Regions from separate parts of the Homo sapiens genome. Here all the other regions are linked to region 1. Evidence: promoter capture Hi-C in 16 types of primary human blood cells and fetal thymus (Javierre and others, 2016). All regions are on one chromosome and are shown on one strand. Each heading gives the region's core, a stretch centred on a gene start or on the middle of the fragment in contact. The rest is flanking DNA. Distances are from core to core; before and after follow the strand shown.

The links. Contacts are between HindIII fragments. The CHiCAGO score rates a contact against its expected background, and 5 or more counts as called.
Region 2: a contact is called between a fragment that was not itself captured here and the fragment with the promoter of NDN in region 1, in 1 of 17 cell types (erythroblasts). The highest score is 5.4, in erythroblasts.
Region 3: a fragment that was not itself captured here is called in contact with the fragment with the promoter of NDN in region 1 in 1 of 17 cell types (M0 macrophages); the score reaches 5.7 in M0 macrophages.

What each region holds. Positions count from the first base shown.
Region 1 is chr15:23,685,748-23,688,895 of GRCh38, forward strand. NDN (necdin, MAGE family member) reads right to left here and starts at 1,558. Exons shown (of 1, transcript NM_002487.3): 1 at 1-1,558. The coding sequence starts at 1,470. The coding sequence ends at 505. The HindIII fragment of the contact is 2,633 bases long and covers 289-2,921 here.
Region 2 is chr15:24,923,329-24,926,476 of GRCh38, forward strand. The region is part of intron 4 of SNHG14 (small nucleolar RNA host gene 14); the gene reads left to right. It also overlaps a transcript of SNRPN not described here. Among named protein-coding and RNA genes, the nearest start is that of SNRPN, 30 kb to the right of the region's middle. The HindIII fragment of the contact is 1,051 bases long and covers 913-1,963 here.
Region 3 is chr15:24,777,415-24,780,562 of GRCh38, forward strand. No RefSeq gene overlaps it. Among named protein-coding and RNA genes, the nearest start is that of SNHG14, 45 kb to the right of the region's middle. The HindIII fragment of the contact is 1,825 bases long and covers 701-2,525 here.

The sequences.
Region 1 (3,148 bases), core at 308-2,807:
GTAAAGTGTGCCAAGTGCTCACACTGAGACCAGTCCAGTTCAAATTAGTGTACTCCACGAGGGTGTTTTCTGTGCCCAGCAAGGTCATGAAGGGCCTTGACTTTTCTTGGTTAGGCCGGCTTTGCTGGTGACTTCTTCCAAACTCTGCAGGAGCAGTCTACCCCAACACACATCATCAGTCCCATATAAAAGAATAAGATGGAAACTTTCTCAATGTATTTCATCAGTTTAGCACATCTCTGGTACAAAAATCCAAGAAAGGTAGCACAAAAGCGAAAGCACCAACCAAGCTTACATATAAACAAACATGCATACATCCTAAATACTACACAATAGTACCCAAATGAATACAACATTGCATTAAAGGTATAAAAGCACTGTACTGAAAACTTAAAAGTTACACGTGAATACTGCACTGTAAATCCTGAATACTATAATGACCCACCCCCACCCTTCCACAGCCCTGGTGAGGGTCAGAAACCATTCATCTGCCTCCAGACTTTGCTAGTCCTCAGAGACACTGCTGCGAGGGTAGTGGGCAGTGGGATTAGCCTCCCGCAGAGCTCTGGCCTCCTCCAGAGCTTCTCTGTATCGGGAGGGCCAGGCCTGGGGGTCTTTCTTAAAGACCCTGGCCAGGAACTCCATGATTTGCATCTTGGTGATTTCGCGGCTGGCCCGGGAGCCCCAAAAGAACTCGTATTCGGGCGGCTCCACGTATGGGACGCGCTGGTACTTCAGGTAATTCATTTGGACGAACTCCTCAGTGATGAGCTTCCGCACGTCCCCGAAGGTGGAGTGCTTCTTCCAGGGCCGCAGCCCCAGGATGCGCAGCACGTTCCAGACGGCGCTCTCTCTGGCGCCGCGGCCCTTCACGTAGATGAGGCTCAGGATCATGAGCAGGAGGCCTGTCATGGGCATGCGGTTGCTCAGCGCCACCCTGTCCAGCTCCTCGGGCTCCAGCGCTTTGACCAGCGCAAACTCCATGGTGTGCAGGCTGGTTAGCCTCAGGTGCAGCCCGAACACCCGGGCGAGGATGAGGCTGGTGCGCCGGAGGATGCTCCTGCACCACTTCTTGTAGCTGCCGATGACATCTTTCACCATGTCTGGAAACCAGATGATCATCTTCTTCTGGTCCTTGACCAGCACGTACCACATGAGCTCGTGCGCCTTCTGCACCAGCTGCGCCGGGGCTGGCGGTGCCGGGCCCGGCTGGGCCGCGCTCGGGGCCTGGTGGGCGCGGCCCTCCTCCGCAGCCTGCTGCAGGGCCTTCGGGTCGCCCTCGTCGTTCGGGGCCTGGGGAGGCGGCGCGGCCTGCGGAGCGGCCGTCGGGCCTAGAGGAGGGCTCTGCGGCTCTGCCAGGGTCGCGGACGGAGGAACCCCCTCCGAAACCCCAGGGCTGCTGTGCACCTCGGAGTTGGGGGCCTCGGCTGCAAAGTTAGGGTCGCTCAGATCCTTACTTTGTTCTGACATGTCTGCGCCGTCTGGCAAGGGCAGGGCCTCTGCGTCCAGGAGCTCTTCGAGCCTGCGCTCCCTCCGCGGATTCCTGGAGAGGAAGTGCGCGTTGCTGCGCGCGGCGCCTTCCGCAGCGACGGGCAGGGCGGGGCGGCGGCGGGACGCGGCACTGCGCCTGCGCGACCGCGGCCTTGGCCAGCGGCTGGGGGCGGGCGGGGCAGCGCGGGGCCCCGACGGGGAGGGTCCATGGCGAGGCTTCACCTGCTGGGAGAGCGATCCCGGGGTTTCCTGTTTGGGCTGAGAAGATCTAGGGCAGGAGAGAAGTGAGATGGATGCGTACTGGAGAAGGGGCCAGTTTAAGGGAAAGATACCTTAAGTTTTTGGGATGTTGGGGTCAAGTTTCTTGGGAAACGCTTACCTGGGTATATCCAGAATTAAGTTAAATATGAGAGTCCCAGAGAAAGGTCTGGGCGGCTTTGTAAACATGAGCTTTATGCGAACCAGTGAGAGGAACAGTCGGGCTTGTCCAAGAAAATGTGTAAACTGTAAAGTGGATGTCTGAGGTTGGAATCCTGAGAAATTCCAATAAAAAATGATCGACTCCCTACCAAATCAGATAGGCTATAAGAAAAGGGGAAATGCAGTGTGTCGTTAACGTAATTTCCTATCAACCCATGTGAACTATGAACTTTTTAAGTAGGCAGTGGACTTAGAGCATCATTAATGCTTTAACGGGCATAAATTTGGGTTTTACACTTCCTTTGGGTAACTTTGATTCCATTTTATTTTTTTCCATACTTAGTCCATAGCAGAAGGATTGCTATATCTTTTAGCACAAACTTGTATGATAATGTCTTTTCCCTCTGCCCAGCACCCTCATTCTTCAATTCACCTTCTCTCAGGACCCTCTCTGAAGCTACTGAGTCCTCCACGTTGGAAGCCACACCCAAGTCTTTCCTGAGATTTAAAAAAAAAATAGGTCCCATGGGTAATATCTGGTAGTGTCTCTGAGATGACCAAAGGGTAGCAGGGGAAACATAGGTAACCCTGTTTTCCAGGTATGGAAAACAGATTCCCAGTGGGCAAAGACAAAACTGTCACTCCTACAGGCTCTCCATGAAAAAAAGGGTCATTGCCTGAGCATCTGAAACCAGGGACCTTAATGCTGCTTCAGCATCCTTGGTCTGGGCTGATGTGGTCCTTCAGCTCTTCCCGGGTTTCTTCTCATCAGCAGCTTCTTAAATATGCTGTCTTGAATCTAGTTATTGCCACTCGAAGCCAAAAGCATATTTAAAAATTGTCTTGACATGTCTAGAGTCCTCACTGTGAGTATGTATCTTTTCCCACTTTATTTTTCCTCAAGCAGGTTGATGTTGAAAGGTTTTCTGTGCTTTCTCTCTTTGGGTTTGCACGCACATAACACTTTTGGCAGAGCCATTACCACACCAGTCCCTCCAACAGGACTCTTAAGCTTCCCACTTCACCAGGGTAATTCCTAGATATCAGTCTTAGTTGGAATTATTTCAACACTTTTCTCCTCCTCCTCACCCTCCTCCACCTCCTCCTTCTCCTCTCCATCTACTTCTCCTTTTTCTCCTTCTTCTATTTATAGATATCTACCATTTTCTTGGGAACATCTTACAGAAATATGCTAATTATATTCATTGTTTTTAAGAATGTCTCTTGAACAGACTTA
Region 2 (3,148 bases), core at 188-2,687, 1.2 Mb after region 1:
ATCTGTAACTGGTAGTGGAATTCATGGATCTTCAATTCAAATGTTGCTCATGGCAGTGTTAATTATAACAACCACTTTGGTAAACTACCTGCTATTACCTACAAAACCATGTGTACCTTACACACGCACCATCCATTCTACTGTGTGGAGTAGGCCACGGAAAAGTACATGCACAGTTGATGAAAAGACATGTATTTAAATGTTTATAGCAGCATTATTTGTAATAGCCAAAACTGGAAATAAAGCAGAGTGGGTAAGTAAATGGTGGTATAGGAATTCAATGGAATTCAACTATAAATAAAAAATAATGAACTGTATCTACATGTAAAAACCTTGATGAATTTTATAAACACAAAGTTGAGCAAAATAATCTAGGCAAAAACATACTTGTCTGAGCCCATCTCTGTAACATTCAGAAGTCAGTATGACAAGTCAGGATGGTGGTTACCTGTGACAGGAGAGAGGCTGTTTTGGGAAGGGCTCACTTGGGTCTTCTCAGTTGCTGGAGTTCACTGTGATAAATTTAGGATTTGTTTCTTTTTAGTGCCGTGTATGTGTGTGTGTGTGTGTGTGTGTGTGTGTGTGTATATAAACATTTTTTTTTTTTTTTTTTTTTTTTTGAGATGGAGTCTCACTCTGTCACCCAGGCTGGATGCCTGGCTTTTTGTAGTTTAGTAGAAATGAGGTTTCAGCATGTAGCTCTGGCTGATCTCAAGCTCCTGAACTCAGGAGTCTTTCCTCCTGTACAGGAGGGAAGACCTTTCCTCTACTTTCTGAGAATTCAATAATTGAGTCCTTGAAAGAAATTGACAGTAGTCAGATTAATGGGAGAAAAGGTATACAAATTAGATATGGACACAGGGACATCACATGAAAGAAAAGCGAATATCCCAGAACCCAGTGAGATTCAGAAGCTTATGTACCCTCTTCTTAGGACAGAGGGTATAGGTGATTAGGTAACTTAGGGGAGAGTAAACAGTTTGGGGGAAAGATAAATGGACTGTCAGAAGAACAGGTAACAGCCGGTGACAAAGTCTGCGTGTGTTATCAAGGTCTACTCTCCTCTCCTGTGATAGGAGCCAATCTTCCCTGGTTAGTGAGTTTCCTGGGGAGGGGATTCATGACAATTAAGTTCCTTTTAGATAATCTGTCTTTAGATAAGGAAGCTCAGAGAAAACCTCTGCCTGTATGAGCTGCTCCCCACATAACCTCAGTTGAAAGTAATCAGCACACCAAAGCATCATATTTTGGGGTGGAGATCCTCCCGCCTCAGTCTCTCAAGTAGCTAGGACCAGAGGCATGCACCATCATGCCCGGCTACTTTTTTTTTTTTTATTTCTTGCAGAGACAGAGTCTCACCATGTTGCCTAGGCTGGTCTCCAATTCCTGACCTCAAGTGATCCTCCTATCTCTGTCTCCCAAACAGCTGGGATTACAGGCATGAGTTACCATGCCCAGGCTAGGGGTGGCATTTCCTGAACTCCTTCAGCCCTCTTGGGAAATGTGCAGGCAGGAAGAAAGAAAAGAATACCCTTGTCCACAGCCAGGTCTTGTTGAGCTTATGCTTGGCAGAATAGAACCTTACACCCAGCCACGTGAAAACTGGGATGATAAATGTCTGCATGTCTGACAGAAGGTTTGGCCTCTGATTCAGCTGTGGTGATTTTTCCATCTACTTAACTCCAAATTCTATTAGCTAGTATAAACTCTCTATTGGACTATGAACACAGTAAGTACACAATCATATGATTATTTTATCTATTGACTTAAATAGAATTGTGTATGAAGGCTGTACTGAAGTTATTCAGGGTTGAGTCAGGAAAAGCTAAATTTCAACCTCTTTTAAGAAAAATATTGATGCCTCCAAATCCATAGTATATATGTTGCTTACTAGCTTATAAAGGGCCCCTGGAAGAAAGGACATTTCCGGTGTTTTATGTCAATCATAGGAAAATAAGCTATAAGCTTTTTTTTAATTCTTTGATTCTCAAAAGTAGGATTGTGGCCAGGCATGGTGGCTCACACTTGTACAGCACTTTGGGAGGCTGAGATGGGAAGATCGCTCAAGGCCAGGAGTTCGAGACCAGCCTGGGTAACAAAGCAAGACCCCATCTCTACAAAAAGAAAAATGTATGATTGCGTCCCCCTACCACTCCCCAACACTTCCCTGGCTCCACACCCCAGTTCCTCTGCTCTCATTTCTGCTGTGTCTTACTCCATGAAGCTTTCAAAACTGCTTTTATAGAGTCCTCCTTTTCTTTTTTATAAATTTATTATTGTTGTTGTTTAATTAAAAGACAGGATCTCACTCTGTTGTGCAGTTGTGCGATCACTACAGCCTCAATCTCCAAGCGATCCTCCCATCTCAGCCTCCCCAGTGGCTGGGACCATAGGTGCATACCACCATGCCCAGCTAATTTTTTTTTTTTTTGAGACAGAGTCTCGCACTCTTGCCCAGGCTGGAGTGCAGTGGCGCGATCTCGGCTCACTGCAAGCTCTGCCTCCCAGGTTCACGCCATTCTCTGGCCTCAGCCTCCCGAGTAGCGGTAGCGCCCGCAACCACACCCGGCTAATTTTTTGAATTTTTAGTAGAAATGGAGTTTCACTGTGTTAGGCAGGATGGTCTCGATCTCCTGACCTTGTGATCCGCCCGCCTCGGCCTCCCAAAGTGCTGGGATTACAGGCCTGAGCCACCGTGCCCGGCCCACTAATTTTTAAATCTTTTTGTAGAGATGGGATCTAACTATGTTAACCAATCTAGTTTCAAACTCCTGGCATCAAGCAGTCCTTCTGTCCAAAGTGCTGAGATTGCAGGCATGAGCCACTGTGCCAGGCCCCTCATTCTTTAAATAGCTACTTTAGATTCTATTGTAAGGATATTTTAATAATTTTCCAACTTTTATTATATTGAGTAGGTGATTCCTTTTTAAATTATATATGTAAATTTTTATTTATATATTTGAATAATATGTTTACATAGTTAAAAATCAAAATATACGAAAGGCATACAGTAAGAAGTCATCTCTTTCCACCCGTAATGACAATATATCCCCTTTTGCCTGGCACAGATGCACACATAAATTATTGTCCTGACATGATTATGAATAATCCTGCTTTCTCTCAGAAGTGTGCTAGTTTGAATGATAAA
Region 3 (3,148 bases), core at 363-2,862, 1.1 Mb after region 1:
AGTTTCTTAGATCTTTCTTGCTTTTGAGGTCATTGACATCCCTCATGTGGGATTTCACTGATGTTTTTCTAATGTTTTGACTGGAGTTGTCAGTTTTAGGGAAGAAGATTACAGACAGAATATGCCATCTCATCACATCATATCAAGGGTACACACTATCAACATGCTTATTACTGTTGACATTAACTTGATAATTTCCATGAGATAATTTAGGTCAGGGATCACCATTTCTTCAAAGAATCTTAGTTCTTTATATTGTAAGGTAATTTTTGTTCCCCTTTCCATGTTGACCTTTTTAAAAAGAAGTCACTGTGCCCAGCACATATTTAAGAATTGGAAAAACATGCTCCACCTCCTGCTAGGCAGAGCTTCTACAATGCCATTTATGTTTCTTTACCATGGACAATTTCTCTATTCTGCTCCATGCATTATTTATATTCATCATTTAATATATCATATAAAATATATGAAATCACAAATATTTACTTCACACTATAATTACTAGTTTATTGATTTTGTTCCTCAAATTGTTTTAGAGTTTGCCATGTAAGGTCTTTCAGATGATTCCTATACCATTTTGATATATCTACGTTGTTGCAGTTTGATTTTGTTTTTTGTTTGTTTGTTTGTTTGTTTGACTGCTTTGTTGGTTGTGTTATTGTTTAGCATTTTATTACTTTCTGGCACTATAAAGTGTTCAAGCTTAATTGTTTTGATTCCCTACCCAAGCCTAATGTTCGTAATTTCTTCAAGGAGTTTTTATTTTTATTGGTGTCTAGTATTAGAAACAATGATCTGGGCAGTGGGTGCACTCATTGCTACTAGGTGATCTGTTGATTCTGGGCTTTGCCAGCTGACAGGAATATATCTGCATATTAACTCCACAAAAACACATATGTAAAAATATATCTACATTTGTCTATGTATATCTATATAAATTTAAACCTGTATTCCCACTAATGTCTCCAATTCTAATCCAGTACCACATGAATGAATCTACTTATTTTTACTACTTGCATATAACCTCTCATTCTAACAATGAGAAAACTGGCCCCCTTTATGAAAACGTTGAGTCCCAAAATATATGCAGACTGGTATCAGAGTTGGTCATTCATACTCCCATAGGAAAGGACTTTATAAATTAAAATGTGTAAGTATATTATTTTACCTGTGTTTCTCAATGGAATGGCCCCTTTCAATAATGTTTTAATTTGTATACATTTTTATTCACTCTTTGTGATATAAAGTTCTGTAGAATTTTACAAATAGTAGCATTAACTGACCATTTTCGTAGCATAGAGAAAAATTTCACTGCTGGAAAGAAATCTGTAATTTTCCTTTCCAACCTTCCTCTCACAAGTTCCTAGTAGCCTCTAATCATTTTAGTATAATTTCAACTTTCCGCAATGTCATATAAATTATATTGAACAGTACATAGTGATGCAAACTACCTTCATTTTCTTATAAATATGCCTTTAAGATTAGTGAAGCAGTGAAGTGTATCACACAATGAATTTGATCTGTGTTTTACTAAGGACTAAATTTGTTGAGCATTGTACATTTGTATAACTTCTTTGGGAAGATGTCTAGTCACACAAAAATTTTGCCCCTTATTTATTAGGATATTTTTCTTTTTATTTTTTAGTTGTAAGAGCATTTTACATATTGTGGCTAATAGACCCCTATCAAGTGTATGATTTGCAAACATTTTTTCCCATTGTTTGGGTTATCTCGATTGTGTACTTTGAATAATGAAAGTTTTAAGTTTTGATGATGTTCAATGTATGGGTTTTGTTTTTTTTTTTTTTTGCTTGTTACTTGTATTTTGATGAAATATCTTAGACTCTATTGTTTAACCTAAGGCTGTGAAGACTAATTCATACATTCACTTTCATAGATTTTGTCATTTTAACTCTTACATTTAGGCCTATGATCCACTTTAAGCCAATTGTTTATATGATGTGAGGGAGGAATCCAGCCTGCAAGTGGATATCCACTTCTGCCAGCAACGTTTATTGGAAGAAACATTTTTCCATATTGATATGCTTTCACAATCTTTAAAATCATTTAAACCATAAATATAAAGGTAATTTTGTGGACCCTCAGTTCTATCCAATAACACATATGGCTAAACTTATACCAGTACCACAATGTCTTGATTACTATCAGTTTGTAATAAGTTTTGAAGTCAAGAACTATGAGTCAAGTACTCCAACTGTATTCTTTTGGGTTAGTTTTGGCTATTCCGGAGCAATTGCATTTTCATATGAAATTTAGAAGTAGCTTGCCAATAACTGCATTTTTTAAAGAAGCAGTATTTTACTATGGATTGTATTAAATCCATAAATCCATTTGGGAAGTATTGTCATCATCACAGTATTAAGTTTTCTAATCATTGATCATGGGATTTTTATTTTTACATTTTTTAGGACATCTTCAGTATCTTTCAATACATTTTATAGTTTTCAATGTACATATTTTACACAGATTTCATTAAATTATTCCTAAGTATATCTCCACTTTGAAGCTTTTTACATAGGAACAGTTTTCTGACTTTCATTATTTTTTTTTTTGAGATGAAGTCTCACTCTTGTCACCCAGACTGGAGTGCAATGGTGTAATCTCGGCTCACTGCAACCTCCGTCTCCCAGGTTCAACTGATTCTACTGCCTCAGCCTCCCGAAGAGCTGGGATTATAGGCGCCTGCCACCATGCCCAGCTAAGTTTTGTATTTTTAGTAGAAACAAGGTTTCACCATATTGGCCAGGCTGGTGCCGAACTCCAGACCTCAAACAATCTGCCCGAATTAGCCTCCCAAAGTGCTGTGATTACAGGTGTGGGCCACCCCGACCAGCCTCTGACTTTCATTTTTAGATTAATTGCTAGTATATAGAAACAGAATTGCTGGTCATCGCTCACTCCAGGCTCCTGCTCTCAGGCTCAAGTGATTCCCCTGCCTCAGCCTCCTGAGTAGGTGGGGCTACAGGTGCATGCCACTAAGCGTAGCTAATTTTTTGAATTTTTTTGTAGAGACAAGGTCTCACCAGGTTGCCCAGGCTTTTCTTGAATTCCTGGCCTCAAGCGATCCTCCTGCCTTAGCCTCCCAAAGTACCAGAACTACAGGTGTGAGCCATCATGCCTGGCCAGA